Linked DNA regions of Homo sapiens: region 2 is linked to region 1. The links are contacts of gene promoters, found by promoter capture Hi-C in blood cells and fetal thymus (Javierre and others, 2016). All regions are on one chromosome and are shown on one strand. The core of a region is centred on a gene start or on the middle of the fragment in contact, and the rest is flanking DNA. Distances in the headings are between cores, read along the strand shown.

Region 1 (3,189 bases), core at 562-3,061:
TTCATGATAAAATTTTTTTTTTTTTTTTTTTTGAGACGGAGTCTCGCTCTGTCGCCCAGGCTGGAGTGCAGTGGCGGGATCTCGGCTCACTGCAAGCTCCGCCTCCCGGGTTCACGCCATTCTCCTGCCTCAGCCTCCCAAGTAGCTGGGACTACAGGCGCCCGCCACTACGCCCGGCTAATTTTTTGTATTTTCAGTAGAGACGGGGTTTCACCGTTTTAGCCGGGATGGTCTCGATCTCCTGACCTCGTGATCCGCCCGCCTCGGCCTCCCAAAGTGCTGGGATTACAGGCGTGAGCCACCGCGCCCGGCCGATAAAAATTTTTAAAAAGTCATTATGTTTTCAGTTCATCACCAAAGTAATGACCAAATCCAAAGCACCTTTATTAGGCCTATCATGCACTATCTTGGTGTGGGCTCCCGCTCTGCCAAGAACCACACAACCTTTGAAACTGATGTCCTGGGCCTGGCGCGGTGGCTCACGCCTGTAATCCCAGCACTTTGGGAGGTTGAAGCGGGCAGATCACCTGAGGTTAGGAGATCGAGACCATCCTGGCTAACACAGTGAAACCCCGTCTCTACTAAAAAAAAAAAAAAAAATACAAAAAAATTAGCCAGGCATGGTGACGGGCGCCTGTAGTCCCAGATGCTCGGGAGGCTGAGGCAGGAGAATGGCTTGAACCCGTAAGGCGGAGCTTGCAGTGAGTCGAGATCGTGCCACTGCACTCCAGCCTGGACTTCGTCTCAAAAAGAAAAAAAAAAGAAAAACTGATGTCCTGGATACTGGGGCGGTTCCTTTACCTTCCTTCAAGGCTGTTCTTGGCGGGTTCCTGCTGTTTCGTTTTGTTTTTTCTTTGTTGTTGTTGTTTTTTTTTTGAGACAGAGTTTCGCTCTTGTTGCCCAGGCTGGAGTGCAGTGGCATGATCTCGGCTCACTGCAACCTCCATCTCCCGGATTCAAGCGATTCTCCTGCCTCAGCCTCCCGAGTAGCTGGGATTACAGGCACGCGCCACAACGCCCGGCTAATTTTTTTTGTATTTTTAGTACAGATGGGGTTTCACCATGTTGGTCAGGCTGGTCTCAAACTCCTGACCTCAGGTGATCCGCCCACCTCGGCCTCCCAAAGTGCTGGGATTACAGGCGTGAGCCACTGCGCCCCGCCGGGCTCCTGCTGTTTCAACCCATTCCTTGGATGGTGCTGCCTCCAAGTGTTCGGACCTTAGCCCCAGGTGGTCTTAGCACCAGTAACCCCCGCTCCAACTCCCTAAAGTCCGACCCGCCCCAGGCCCCGCCCACGCTCCACCCTCCCTCCCTGTCTAGCCCCCTCCCCCATCCCCTTCCCCCTCCTTCGCGTCTCCCCATCCGGCGCCCCCGCCTCGCGTCCCCTGGGTCCGCATCCTGGCAGCCTCCGCGTTTCCCTACCCCTGCTACCGGGCTCCAGCCCCGGGGACGCTATCTGCTTCACTCGGCCGTGCGCGCCGCCACCGCCCCGCACTGCCTTTTTCTAGGCATGGGGTCATCTAGGCCATGCATGATTCGCCCCTGCCCCACAGAAGTCCCTGAGGGGTCCTGGCCGGACAGCACGGAATAGAAGAACGGAAACTCTCCCAAAAGGAGTCCCAGGCCTGGCTCTATCCCTCCAGATGACGTCCCAGGAGGCCAGAGTGCAGGGCCGGCCAGAGGGAGTCACAGTCCGGCACCGAGAGGCAACTCGGCAGCTGGCGGGGCCCGGGCTCGAACCCAGGGACTCACCCAAACCGAGGTGACCGTCGCACGCGCCGCCGCCACCGGGGCCGACGAATCACCTGCCCTGGGAAGCTAGGTCCGCCCTCCCCCCGCCCCCAGCTGCTGCCTCACCGCTGGGCCCACAGGCCTCGCGCCCTGAGTTTCCGGCTCCTCCCTCCTTTGCGAACGCTGGGAGTTCCGTTGCCTACAGGCCGTTATTTCCGCCTTCAACGGCTGGGGCATTTCCCATCGGCTAGGGAGGGGGTCTTCTTGCATTTGCTTTGCACTGTCCGGGACTCTTCCTGCTAGATGACTTGACCAGGCCGAGGCCTCCCTCCTGAACACAAGCTCTTCGGGGCTCCTTTCGCCAATGGGAGGAGGCTGATCTTGTGGCCGGGCATTCAACGCCCTGGGCCCTGCCGCCTCCCGCAGATCTTCCCGGGCCTTAGGGCTTCACCTGGAGTCCCCTTCCCCTCTTGGGCCCGTGCTCTTAAACGGGCAGTGCCAATTGCCTGGATTACTCCAACTAACCCCTCACACCCAAGTTTCAGACACAGACCTTCGCTCCCCCACTTGCCCTTAACAAAAGCAGATACATACCTCGATTACTGCCTGTTTGCTGCTTTTGCGAGCTTCTTTCCCACTCGGCTGCGGGCTGAGCAATGGTAGGGACCTGGCTTGATTCCTATTTAAGTAGCCAGAGTCCAGCACAAGGGATGGCGCTCAGTAGACCCTGCGTGAAGGAATGATTAAATTGGTGCAAAAGACTAGGGTAAGCGGCAGAGATTTAGGAGATTAAGTCCTGCCAGGGTGTAGCCTCTGCAGGGCGGGAAGGCTGAGATTACAATTTTAAAACTGAATATTTATTGAATGCTTACATTCAGCCAATCCCTGCTTCACACCCATCATCTCATTTAATTTTTTTCCTTTTTTTTCTTTTTTAAGCCAGTAGATATTAACTCTTAATCATGACATGAGGAAGTAGACACACTGAAGCTCAGAGAGGTTAAGTAATTTGGCCAAAGTAACACAGCTTTCAAGGAAAATGTTTGAATTTGCTGAAAGTTTGATGTATAGGGAAGTTGACTACCGATGTATGACAGAAGCAAAGTATCCACCTTTGGCACATTTTGCGTCCACGGAATGCTAAAATTTGGACTTGTGTATTTTATGCACATTACACCATACATTCAGACTAAAAAGAATAGGAAATTAGGCTGATGAAAGGCTATTACTAGACTGGTAAAAAGGGTTCTGGGGCCCTGGAAGGCCAATTTTTCTGGACGTGAGATTTTTTTTTATTTTTTTGAGATGGAGTCTCGCTCTGTCGCCCAGGCTCTGGAGTGCAGTGGCGCAATCTCCGCTCACTGCAAGCTCCGCCTCCCGGGTTCACGCCATTCTCCTGCCTCAGCCTACTGAGTAGCTGGGACTACAGGCGCCTGCCACCATGCCCGGCTAATTTTT
Region 2 (3,552 bases), core at 970-3,469, 120 kb before region 1:
ATCTGCCAACCTTCCCTCCACTATTGTCCTATGACCCTGCCAAATCCCCCTCTGCGAGAAACACCCAAGAATGATCAATAAAAAAAATAAAAATTTAAAAAAAAAAGAAAAAAAAAAAGAAGCACCAAAGCAGAAAGTACCTCTTTCTGCATGCGAGAAACCATCATTTATGTGAGAGTGATGTTCCCTAACATAAGGAAGGGTCTCTGCTAAGCAAGTGAGGGGTGGAAGGAGCTGTTGCCAGAGCCTACCAGAAGCATCCTGGTAACCAGCTGCTGGCCCAAACTTTTTCTACTTACATGGAACAGTGGAAAGTGCCAACAGGGTTCTCACGACGAATGTCTTCATATTCCTCATAGATTCCTTGCTTTTGCCTGGCATTAACATAGTCCACCAACTCTTGGATGGTCATAGCATGGGGACCTGGAACATGTACTGAGTCCCAGTCTAAGGCAGGAGGGAGGGAGAACAGGATGATCTCATCGAAGGGATCTGGGTGGCCGTTCACCTGGGGTAGGAACTGGAAATTCCAAGTGGCGAGATCAATTTTGACGTACCCACCCAGGTTTTCTGGAAGACACTCCCTGGGCAGATGCTGCGTGACCTCAGATGTCTTTAATATTTGAATCTGGAAGGTTAGAAAGAACCATGTGAGTATGTGGGAGGAGGGAAAGGCATATAGAGTGACAAAGAATAAATGTATTTATATCAGGTTTGGAGGATGGGATAAGATTTTCTTGAAATACAAGGTATACTTGTAAAAGTAGTAGACTACATTTCATCTGCCTGAGATTTAAGTCCTATGAATTTGCCAGATAAAAGTGTGAACTCCCAGAATGTATATAAAATTCACTCCTGGAATTAGGGACACTGTTATACATCTTCTGAAAGGACGATGTAGTGAACAAAAGCTTTATATTATTAACAAGGCTTCCCAGCATCGCTGCATGCTGGTACTCTTTTTTTGGCCACTAAGAATGCATAGGTAGTAGTTATTTTTGTCAACCCCATACTCAGACAACCAATTCTAAGGCCTGTTAGCTTGTATTTTACTCAGCTTGGTATAACTGTTCACAAAGATAGGATTCTATGAAAGCAAGACACCCAGAGGCAGGGTAGCCCAGGAAAAATGTGAGATAACACTTTTTTTTTGAGACAGGGTCTCACTTTTTCACCCAGCCTGGAGTGTAGTGGCGTGATGAAGGCTCACTGCAGCCTCAACCTCCTGGGCTCAAGTGATCCTTCCACCTCAGCCCCTCAAGTAGCTGGGAATACAGATGCACACAACCACGCCCAGCTAATTTTTTGTAGTAACCATAAAACTTAATTCTGCTCTCTGCTTGGACATAGCCATGCTGGAACTAATTAGCTTAACTGGTTCTCCTTAGGATCTCTGTGGAATGGGGATTCTCTTCCTCCTAAAAGCTCATCTCTTTTGCTGTCGCCTCTTCTTGGAATGCCTTCCTTTCCTCCTCTGCCTCTTCATGGACCAGCACAGCTCACCTCTTCTGTGAAGTCTTTCCTGACTGCCTGAGGCCATATGCTCCTCTGCGTTCCTGCAGAGCCAAAGTCCTCCTATGTGTATCTCTGTGTTCCCTATCAAGACCATGAGCTCCTTGAGGGTAGACTGTCTCACTTAATTTTTAATTATCAGGAACCAGTGCTTCGACTACAAAAAGTGCTTAATATATTTTGAGTTTATACATGCATGTATAATTCCTATAATTCAAGTGCAAGAACTTGCCTATGGATTCCTCTCAAAGAGTTACCTTAGAAAAGATCTCTCCAGCTGGCACGGTGGCTCATGCCTATAATCCCAGCACTTTGGGAGGCTGAGGCAGGTGGATCACCTGAGGTCAGGAGTTTGAGACCAGCCTGTCCAACATGGTGAAACCCCATCTCTACTAAAAAAATACAAGAATTAGCTGGGCATGTTGGCAGGAGCCTGTAATCCCAGCTACTTGGGAGGCTGAGGCAGGAGAATCACTTGAACCCGGGGGACGGAGGTTGCAGTGAGCCAAGATCATGCCATTGCACTCTAGCCTCAGCGACAACAGCAAAACTCTGTCGCAAAAAAAAAAAAAAAAAAAGAAAGAAAAGATCTCTCCTGGCTGGGCACGGTGGCTTATGCCTGTAATCCCAGCACTTTTGGGAGGCTGAGGTGGGTGGATCACGAGGTCAGAAGATCAAGACCATCCTGGCTAACACAGTGAAACTCCGTCTCTACTAAAAACACAAAAAATTAGCCGGGCGTGACAGCACACGCCTGTAGTCCCAGCTACTAGGGAGGCTGAGGCAGGAGAATGGTTTGAACCTGGGAGGCGGAGCTTGCAGTGAGCCGAGATCGCTTCACTGCACTCCAGCCTGGGAGACAGAGCGAGACTCCGTCTCAAAAAAGGTGGCTCACGCTTGTAATCCCAGCACTTTGGGAGGCTGAGGTGGGCGGATCATGAGGTCAGGAGTTCGAGACCAGCCTGGCCAATATGGTGAAACACCGTCTCTACTAAAAATACAAAAATTAGCTGGGTGTGGTAGCGTGCGCCTGTACTCCCAGCTACTCAGGAGGCTGAGGCAGAAGAATCGCTTGAACTCAGGAGGCGGGGCTGCAGTGAGCCAAGATCGTGCCACTGCACTCCAGCCTAGGCAACAGAGTGAGACACTCTCAAAAAAAAAAAAAAAAAAAAAAAAAGAAAAGCTCTCTCCTACTCTGCGTCATTAGGTCTCTAAGCAGCTTCCACAGAACCAAATGTTTTCACTTTCATGTCCTGTCTTTTAATTGCTGCAATCAGTAACTGAGACCATAAATCTTTTAATCATGGAACACGCAGGAGATTATAACAGAATTAAAGTTTCTGGTTTTATTGTGGCGGCGGGGTCTCACTGTGTTGCCTAGGCTGGTCTCAAACTCCTGGCCTCAAGCGATCTTCCCGCCTTGGCCTCGGACTCCCAAAGTGTTAGTATTATAAGCATGAGCCATTACACTTGGCCCAGAATTAAAGTAATTTTGAACGCTTTTGAAATTGGGAAGCAACAAGGTATTCTGAGAAAAAAAAATGCCAGGAATAAATGTAGAAAGAGACATAACGAAAAACTTTCCTCCACAACCCTGGTGGTCAAGGGATTGAATGATGTTTCCAGTTGAACAAATTCTAATGCCAGTTCAACTAATGCAGTTATATTACAAGCTGTTAAATATTAAAGGCCTATGCAGCACTAGGATAAATTTTGGAAGTAGCAGCTATCCCTAAGTTACCTCCAGGACACGTTCCTTCAGTACTATCTTATGCAAGGTGCTATAGAAAGTGAGAACCAGATAAACTGTGTTTAGTTTTGAACTTCAAGAAGCTCGTAGGACAGTAAGAGAGGCAGTCTGTATTGAACTGACTAATGCATCAGGTAGAGAATATAAGTGAATGCACTAACAGAAGCAGAACAGGCTCTAGAAGACACGCCAGGAGGATTTTTTGAAGGTAGAAAATTAATTGGCAGGAATTCACTGTATCTATTCACCTCCAGATAAAAAAGGGCAAGCTTGCCTTACCCTCTCCCGGA

The links. The method cuts DNA at HindIII sites, captures the fragments that hold promoters and counts their contacts. A CHiCAGO score of 5 or more calls a contact.
Region 2: a fragment that was not itself captured here is called in contact with the fragment with the promoter of SNUPN in region 1 in 8 of 17 cell types (naive CD4 T cells, activated CD4 T cells, total CD4 T cells and 5 more); the score reaches 12.0 in naive CD4 T cells.

The regions. Positions count from the first base shown.
Region 1 is chr15:75,623,914-75,627,102 of GRCh38, forward strand. SNUPN (snurportin 1) reads right to left here and starts at 1,812. Exons shown (of 9, transcript NM_005701.4): 1 at 1,753-1,812. RefSeq lists a silencer at 1,291-1,340 and an enhancer at 1,991-2,180. The HindIII fragment of the contact is 10,585 bases long and covers 1-3,189 here.
Region 2 is chr15:75,505,376-75,508,927 of GRCh38, forward strand. It overlaps PTPN9 (protein tyrosine phosphatase non-receptor type 9), which reads right to left. Exons shown (of 13, transcript NM_002833.4): 6 at 3,542-3,552; 7 at 300-628. Among named protein-coding and RNA genes, the nearest start is that of SIN3A, 55 kb to the left of the region's middle. RefSeq lists an enhancer at 1-148. The HindIII fragment of the contact is 2,620 bases long and covers 910-3,529 here.